Linked DNA regions of Homo sapiens: regions 1 and 2 are each linked to region 3. Evidence: promoter capture Hi-C in 16 types of primary human blood cells and fetal thymus (Javierre and others, 2016). All regions are on one chromosome and are shown on one strand. The core of a region is centred on a gene start or on the middle of the fragment in contact, and the rest is flanking DNA. Distances in the headings are between cores, read along the strand shown. Region 1 overlaps XPOT (exportin for tRNA). Region 2 overlaps TBK1 (TANK binding kinase 1). Region 3 holds the start of GNS (glucosamine (N-acetyl)-6-sulfatase).

Evidence for each region. Contacts are between HindIII fragments. The CHiCAGO score rates a contact against its expected background, and 5 or more counts as called.
Region 1: a contact is called between a fragment that was not itself captured here and the fragment with the promoter of GNS in region 3, in 3 of 17 cell types (naive CD4 T cells, non-activated CD4 T cells and total CD8 T cells). The highest score is 8.3, in naive CD4 T cells.
Region 2: a fragment that was not itself captured here is called in contact with the fragment with the promoter of GNS in region 3 in 2 of 17 cell types (total CD8 T cells and non-activated CD4 T cells); the score reaches 5.9 in total CD8 T cells.

What each region holds. Positions count from the first base shown.
Region 1 is chr12:64,422,923-64,425,622 of GRCh38, forward strand. XPOT (exportin for tRNA) reads left to right here. Exons shown (of 25, transcript NM_007235.6): 10 at 83-121; 11 at 260-322; 12 at 1,677-1,801; 13 at 2,116-2,260; 14 at 2,416-2,535. Among named protein-coding and RNA genes, the nearest start is that of XPOT, 20 kb to the left of the region's middle. The HindIII fragment of the contact is 328 bases long and covers 1,089-1,416 here.
Region 2 is chr12:64,484,210-64,486,909 of GRCh38, forward strand. It overlaps TBK1 (TANK binding kinase 1), which reads left to right. Exons shown (of 21, transcript NM_013254.4): 9 at 94-290; 10 at 1,246-1,304; 11 at 1,717-1,808. Among named protein-coding and RNA genes, the nearest start is that of TBK1, 33 kb to the left of the region's middle. The HindIII fragment of the contact is 768 bases long and covers 867-1,634 here.
Region 3 is chr12:64,757,987-64,760,686 of GRCh38, forward strand. GNS (glucosamine (N-acetyl)-6-sulfatase) reads right to left here and starts at 1,420. Exons shown (of 14, transcript NM_002076.4): 1 at 1,099-1,420. The coding sequence starts at 1,290. It also overlaps a transcript of TBC1D30 not described here. RefSeq lists an enhancer at 1-846. The HindIII fragment of the contact is 13,978 bases long and covers 1-2,700 here.

The DNA.
Region 1 (2,700 bases), core at 3-2,502, 340 kb before region 3:
GGTCTTAATTGATTCGAAAAATGTTCTGATATGCAGGTATAACTTTAGAAAACCTAATAAGTTATTGCTTCCTTTTTAACAGCTTACAGTGCTCTCGGATCAGCAAAAAGCTAATGTAGAGGTAATTGACTTTATGCTTCTTTTAAACCAATGATAGATTTTTAGTCTGTAATTTGCCTTGAAATGTAGCTTAATTTCAAATTATATCAAATTAGAAGGAGACTGACAAAAACTCTTTTATTCTCAATTTTATTCTTAGGCAATCATGTTGGCCGTTATGAAAAAATTGACTTACGATGAAGAATATAACTTTGAAAATGAGGTAAGAATTTTTTTTTGTTGAGGAGAAAGGAGTTTTAATTTTATTATTATATCAAATTAATATTTCAAGTTCTTATTGTTTCGGGGCCCTTTAAAACATGAAGTTCTTGAAAAATTAGTCTGTTTATATTGACACCAACCTTGGGTGAAATTAATAGAAGCCTCTTAATCCTTCCTTTTTGATATTTTATCCATTAACAACCACCCCCCCTCCTTTTTTTTTGCTTTGAGACAGAGTCTCACTCTGTCACCCAGGCTGGAGTGCAGTGGTGCCATCTCAGCTCACTGCATCCTCTGCCTCCTGGGTTCAAGTGATTCTTGTGCCTCAGCCACCTTAGTAGCTGGGATTACAGGCATGTGCCACCATGCCCGGCTAATTCTTGTATTTTTAGTAGAGACGGGGTTTCGCCGTGTTGGCCAAGTTGGTCTTGAACTCCTGGCCTCAAGTGATCTGCCTGCCTCAGCCTCCCAAAGTGTTGGGATTATAGGTGTGAGCCACTGCACCTGTCCCATTAACAGCCCTTTTACAAATACTGTGTAGCACTGAACATAGTAAAATATTGATAATATTATTGGTGATCATATTTCACTTTATATTTTGTAAGAATGATGAACTCCAGTCACAAGACTGTATTGGCAGAGTGGAAATGAGGCGCTCTAGACTTGTTCCAGTTAAAGGTCTTTTTCAAGATTGTGAGTGGGTCAGCTTCCCATCAAACAAGGGCCATTGGTGCTTTCTAGGTATTCAGTCATGGTATTTGCTGCTAAGCTTTGTTCTAAAGTGTTGTATTCCCCCACCTCAGACATTCAAAAACTTAGGGTTGTAAAAGGATAATAGTGGTGCTGACCAACACACTGCGCACCTGGGATGTGCCAGGCTCCTAAGATTGAATATCTCCAGTTATACCATATTATTACCACTTTTTACAGTGGATATTGACTTACAAGAATAAATAAGGTGCAAAGAATTCAAAGCCCATTCTAGTGCTAGAGTATTGTCTTTAACCTTCTTAGACTATTTCTAGCTCTAGGCTTTTGAGGTCTACGGCTTTGTGCAGAAATACTTATTTGTGAGCTGGAGGGAAGAAGTTATTAAGCTTAATAAGTTTTTCTATATAAATAGTGACAAAAATAAAAGTACGAAATATGTAAATGCGGAAAAATACAGGAGAACTGGATATTTACATGAATTTTAAGGTCTTTTAAGTTTTTAATTTTTATTATTATACTTTAAGTTTTGGGGTACATGTGCAGAACGTGCAGGTTTGTTACATAGGTATACATGTAGCCATGGTGGTTTGCTGCGCCGATCAACCCATAAGTTTTTTGAATGAGGATTTTAACCTGTATCATAGGGTGAAGATGAAGCCATGTTTGTAGAATATAGAAAACAACTGAAGTTACTGTTGGACAGGCTTGCTCAAGTTTCACCAGAGTTACTACTGGCCTCTGTTCGCAGAGTTTTTAGTTCTACACTGCAGTAAGTTTGTCATTACTTTTGTAACAAGCCTACTTCTTTCTTTTGCTCTTTGATATGGGTCAAAATAAATGATTCATATGACTTATTAATCCATGTTACTTATTGAGATCTTATGTGTATCTCTGGAAACAATGCACTTGTCTTCTTGATTTATCTTGATCCTTTCTACCTTTGTGATGTATTGCCTGGGAAAGTTAACAGTTGCTATGACTTTTTAATAATTAAAAAGGCTTTTGTTGGTGTCTTACCCTGTGCATAATTTGCTGTATGAAAAATTTATCTTTAAATCTCACTGACATATTATACCTTGGTAGGAATTGGCAGACTACACGGTTTATGGAAGTTGAAGTAGCAATAAGATTGCTGTATATGTTGGCAGAAGCTCTTCCAGTATCTCATGGTGCTCACTTCTCAGGTGATGTTTCAAAAGCTAGTGCTTTGCAGGATATGATGCGAACTGTAAGTATACTGGAGATAATTTTGACCATAAATTTCTGTTTTCAGTATAAGCTAATGGGAGTTCCTTAATTGTTAGAGCTTAGTATATGTTAATACCGGGGCATTTTGATGTTGCAATAAATAAGAAGAGGTTTCCTAACTTTTTCCTGATCTAGCTGGTAACATCAGGAGTCAGTTCCTATCAGCATACATCTGTGACATTGGAGTTCTTCGAAACTGTTGTTAGATATGAAAAGTTTTTCACAGTTGAACCTCAGCACATTCCATGTGTACTAGTAAGTACTCTGGATTTTTGTTACTTTCCATGGGTTTCAGCTAATGACTTGATAGTGTAGTATTGTATTTTTCTGTCTATAACTTTTCTCAGAATCAAAACCTCTCAGAAGTGCTTGGCACACACTGAAAGTAACCCCTCCTCCATTTCTTTTAAATGGATAGTT
Region 2 (2,700 bases), core at 1-2,500, 270 kb before region 3:
GAATTAGAAATGGATGTTGTTGCACTCATTTAAAATATTTTGCCTCTCACTTTATCCCCAGTTATAGTGTCCTTTTGAATTTTTCTCACACAGTGCTACTATATTTCATGAACTGGTATATAAACAAACCAAAATTATTTCTTCAAATCAAGAACTTATCTACGAAGGGCGACGCTTAGTCTTAGAACCTGGAAGGCTGGCACAACATTTCCCTAAAACTACTGAGGAAAACCCTATATTTGTAGTAAGCCGGGAACCTCTGAATACCATAGGATTAATATATGAAAAAAGTAAGTTGGGATTTTTCTTGTCGTTCTTACTAGCCATTAGAAAAATACAGCCAGCCTGGGCAACATAGTGAGACCTTGTCTCTACAAAAAAATAAAACAAAAATTAGTGGGGCATGGTGGCTTGCACCTGTAGTCCCAGCTGCATGGGAGGCTGAGGTAGGAGGATCACTTGAGCCCAAGAGGCAGAGGTTGCAGTAAGCCGAGATTGCACCACTGCACTCCAGCCTGGGAGACAGTGTGGGACCCTGTCTCAAAAACAAAAAAATCCACAAAGTCTGTCATTGTAGAAATGATTGTCATCCTTATAAAGCTGATGATAATATTAGTGTAGAGCTTTCATAAATATTAAAATTTTATAAATTACTATAGTTGAAAGAGAGTAATTGTAAAATTGAAAAAGCCTTGTAGACATGATTTGACTTCAAATATTTTGTTTCCTAAAACGATAAAATCGTTTGTCATACGTTTCACTGTAACTCTCTTTAAAAAGTGTTTTGCTAACACTCAAAATTACCTTTTATATCATAAATTTCAGCAAATATTTTTTGTGTGCAGTATGTATAGAACATTGTGCCAAGCTTTAGAGTCTAAGAAAAATTAGATCTGCATTTTTAGAATCTTTTAAATTACTCATTCTACTGGTAGAAAAAAAAATGGATCACCCAGAATTTTACAGTTCTATTTGAAGGTTGGGATTTGATGTAGATTTAAAGAGAAGCATTGGACTCATTGTGTTGGTGTATATTTAAGGAAAAAATGAAACTCCTTAGAAATATTTGAGGTAATTTGTTAGAGAATGAGCATTATTGTTTGAAGTGGTGTTTTTTTAATCACGAAAACTACATTACAGATTTTGCCACTAATGTTTAATTTAGACATTGTGTTTGCTCTATAAAGGATAAAGTGATTTTTTCAAAAAGTTTTCTTTCTCATTTTATTTTACTTCATATTTCAGTTTCCCTCCCTAAAGTACATCCACGTTATGATTTAGACGGGGATGCTAGCATGGCTAAGGTTAGTATTTAATTTAATTACTATGTAAACATCTGAATTTAATGTATCCTATCAATAGTGGAAGCAATAACATGTATTGTGTCTTCATGTATGTCTATATGACTTAGGAAATTATTCACTTAAATTGATACCCTTTCCAAGTGATTTTGTGGTCTTTCTTTTTTACTTTTTATCCTTTCTTGAATTCATTATATAAGAAAATTCTCTCCATTGAGATAGTGCATGTTTAGATAATGTTAAGGATAACATATTTATTATATTTATATCTATTTTTAACTCTTAGAAATTGGTGGTTTATTGTGTTTTTAATTAACCTGATAAAAATGTGTAAGCTTGAATAATTTTGTGTAAAAGTTTTTCTTACCCTATACCACAATTAGCACCAAATATTGACATTTTATTTCTTTATTAGGCAATAACAGGGGTTGTGTGTTATGCCTGCAGAATTGCCAGTACCTTACTGCTTTATCAGGAATTAATGCGAAAGGGGATACGATGGCTGATGTAAGTAATAGATTGAAATTTTGAAATTGATTTTCATGTAGACCTTGCCCCATCATTGATATTTTCTCTCTTCAAACTAGTTAGGTTAGGTGCTTGATTTTTATTATAATACATTTGTTTCACATTTAGTTTATAAAACATTTAGCAGCTCATTTTTCATGAGTCCTACAATGACCTTGTGAGACAGAACAAATAGTATCTGAATTTTAAAACTTACACCACGCTATAGGATGTGACGGCAAATGCATTTCTTTTCCTAGGACCTTGAGTAGTTGGTTGTCATTTAACTATGTTAGAAGTCTTTGGCTTGTTAGAATTCAGTACAATCTGTACTTTCTAGCATTTAAGTCCTCAAAGTCTTCCTTAATTTCCTACCATTTTCCCAAATGAAGTACACAGTCCTTTTTTATCACACCGTATTTTTTTTTTTTCTTTTTGAGACAGGGTCTCGCTGTCACCCAGGCTGGAGTGCAGTGGCACAATCACAGATCACTGCAGCCTGAAACTCCTGGCCTCAAGTGATCCTACCACCTCACCTTCCCAAGTACCTGGGACTATAGGCATGCCCCACCACACCCAGCTAATTTTTTTTTTTTTAGTGATGGGGGGTCTAGTTATGTTGCCCAGGCTGGTCTCAAACTCTTGGGCTCAGGCAATCAGCCCGCCTCAGCTGGGATTATAGGCATGAGCCACACCCAGCCTTCACAACATTGAGATATAATTCATATACTATATAACTCATGCATTTAAGCATACAGTTTAATGGTTTTTATTATGTTCAGAGTTGTGCAGCCATCATCACTAATTTTAGAACATTTTCATCACCCCAGAAAGTATCTCTGCATCCATTAGTATTCACTCTCCATCTCCGCCTAAACAGCCCTGCCCTAGG
Region 3 (2,700 bases), core at 170-2,669:
GCTGAACCCAGGGTCAGAGGACTCTGCCTCAACTACTCATGTCTTGGGCAAGTTGCTTTCTGGGCCTCCATGGGGAAGGGGTTGGAGTGGATGTTTCCAAAGGTCACACATTCCATAATTCTGCAATACACAAGCAAAATTTACTCTGGAAAAAAAATGAAGTCTTGTGACAACACCCATTAGATAGAAAATGAAACACTGACAGTCTCTAATGCAACAGTCAGGTGTTCAATCACACTAATTGAATTTTCTTGATTCTTGTGAGGCAACACACACCCTCAATAGTTCGACGGTCGGCCTACCAGATTAGTTCACTTCAGGCCTTTTTTTTTTTTTTTTTTTTTTTTTTTTTTTGGAGACGGAGTCTCGCTCTGTCGCCAGGCTGGAATGCAGTGGCGCGATCTCGGCTCACTGCAACTGCTGCCTCCCGGGTTCAAGCGATTCTCCTTCCTCAGCCTCCCAAGTAGCTGGGACTACAGCTGCGCGCCACCACGCCCAGCTAGAATTATTGTATTTCTAGTAGAGACGGGGTTTCACCATGTTGGCCAGGATGGTCTCGATCTCTTGACCTTCTGATCCGCCCGCCTCGGCCTCCCAAAGTGCTGGGATTACATGAGTGACACACCGCGCCCGGCCCAGGCTTATTTTTATTGACATCAGATACAGACATTGTATACAGGCACAAACGTGGAGGTGGTCTAGGTCCCTCATAAAGGGGACTGGACTTGTCTGTGATCCTCTAATCCAAAAGAAAAACAATCAGGCCTTGAGTGCTCTTAGACAGCACCTGATCCTCATTGGTTCAACCCATCCTCCACTGGTCTCCACATGTTTATCTTGAGATATTAACGTAAACTCCACAGCAGTACGGTCCAGACTAGAAGCTCTGTGTGCTGTACGCATGTGCCTCAATCCAGAAAGGAAAAGAGTATTGCAGTCCCTTACACCGGCATAAAGGGCCTCAGGTGGGAAAACCAAACCTACCCAAGGATAAGACAGCCAGTTCGGGGAGGAGGGTGGTGGGGACCGGGAAAGAGAGCAACAAACCGGGTAGTCAGCCCAAGAGATAGAGGGGCGGGGCAGAAACAGAAGAGTTACCATGCCGCCGAGCACTTCGTCCTGGTCGTCCGTGAGGAGCAGCACCACGTTGGGCCTCCGGGTTCCCGCAGCCACCCCGAAGACCCCCAGGCAGCCGCCCAGCACCAGCAGTAGCAGCGCTGGGCTGCAGGAGGGCAGGTGGCGGGGGCTGCCCCGCCGGAGCCGACCTGGGGCTAGAGGCAGGAGCCGCATAGCGGACAGGCTCCGGGGTGACCCCGGGACGGGACGGGACGGAGGGACGCACAGGTAGCTGAAGGGCGAGAGGCCGACCAGCCGAAGGAATAAAAAGCCGTGCCTTGAAGGCCGGTGGCTGGAGTCAGACGTTTTCTCCCTAGGCGCGATCACGTGAGCCAGGGACAGGGGGCGGAGCACGCTGCGCGGTCACGTGACGGCCGGCGTGGGCGGGGCTGCGGACTGGCGCAGCCTGGAGGGAGGCATCAGGCAGTGGCGGAAAAGGGGCGGAGAACCGGAGAAAAGGGCGGAGAACCGGAGAAAAGGGCGGAGAACCGGAGAAAAGGGCGGAGAACCGGGAAAAGGGCGGAGAACCGGGAAAAGGTCAAGACCTGTACGTACCTCTCGCGCAGGCTCGGGTTGCGTTCTGGTAGGACGTACGTGTTTCTGAGCGCTTGGTGGAAAGATTTAAATGGGGGGAAGAGAAGATGAAAAGCAGGAAAGAGTTGGCAAATACTAACCAACCGATAAAGGAAGAGAAAGGAGGACTGTACATAACAGAAATTATCATCAGCTGGTGAGGAAAGTGGACTCTACCATATTTAATCCCCAAGTCGACGGGCACTTATTCAAGGCCCGGATGTTTAATCGTTTTTAATTTTCTCTACAACTTGTGAGATAAATCTTAACATTCTCATTTGGCTCAGACATTAAATTCGGAACTGGTTAGCTCTCTTAACTCCAAAGCCTAATTATGTTCTTCTTTCCTCAGCAGACATCGTAGTTTCAAACAATTTAGGGATGTCCTGACAGCTTTATCCTAATGGTTATCCTAATGGTCCTTGGTGACTTTTTAAACACCCTCTTGGAACATGTTGGAGGATGTGCAGATCGAACAAAAATCTTGAAACGTGGTCATCCAACTGCATTATTAAGTAATCTTTAGCGGGGAATAGCCCTTGAAACTAGCTCCAGATATTTCTGTGGTCGCTCTGGAATAATTAGACTTTGCCCCTCTCCTCTCACCGCCCACCGTGGGCGCGGTGGCTCACGCTTGTAATCCCAGCACTTTGGGAGGCGGGTGGATCACCTGAGGTCAGGAGTTTTAGACCAGCCTGGCCAACGTGGGGAAACCCCGTCTCTACTAAAATACAAAAATTAGCTGGGCGTGGTGGCAGGCGCCTGTAATCCCAGCTACTCGGGAGGCTGAGGCATGAGAATCGCTTGAACCCGGGAGGCGGAGCTTGCAGTGAGCCACTGCACTCTGGCCTCAGGGACAGAGCGAGACTCTTGTCTCAAAACAAACAAACAAACAAAAAATCACAGAGATATTCCTGGCAAGGTGAACTGTCAAGTCACATCCCCAGACCGATATAACAAGGTATACCTCCTTGCTGGTAAAAGTATTTTCTCTGAGTTGAACTGTTTGCC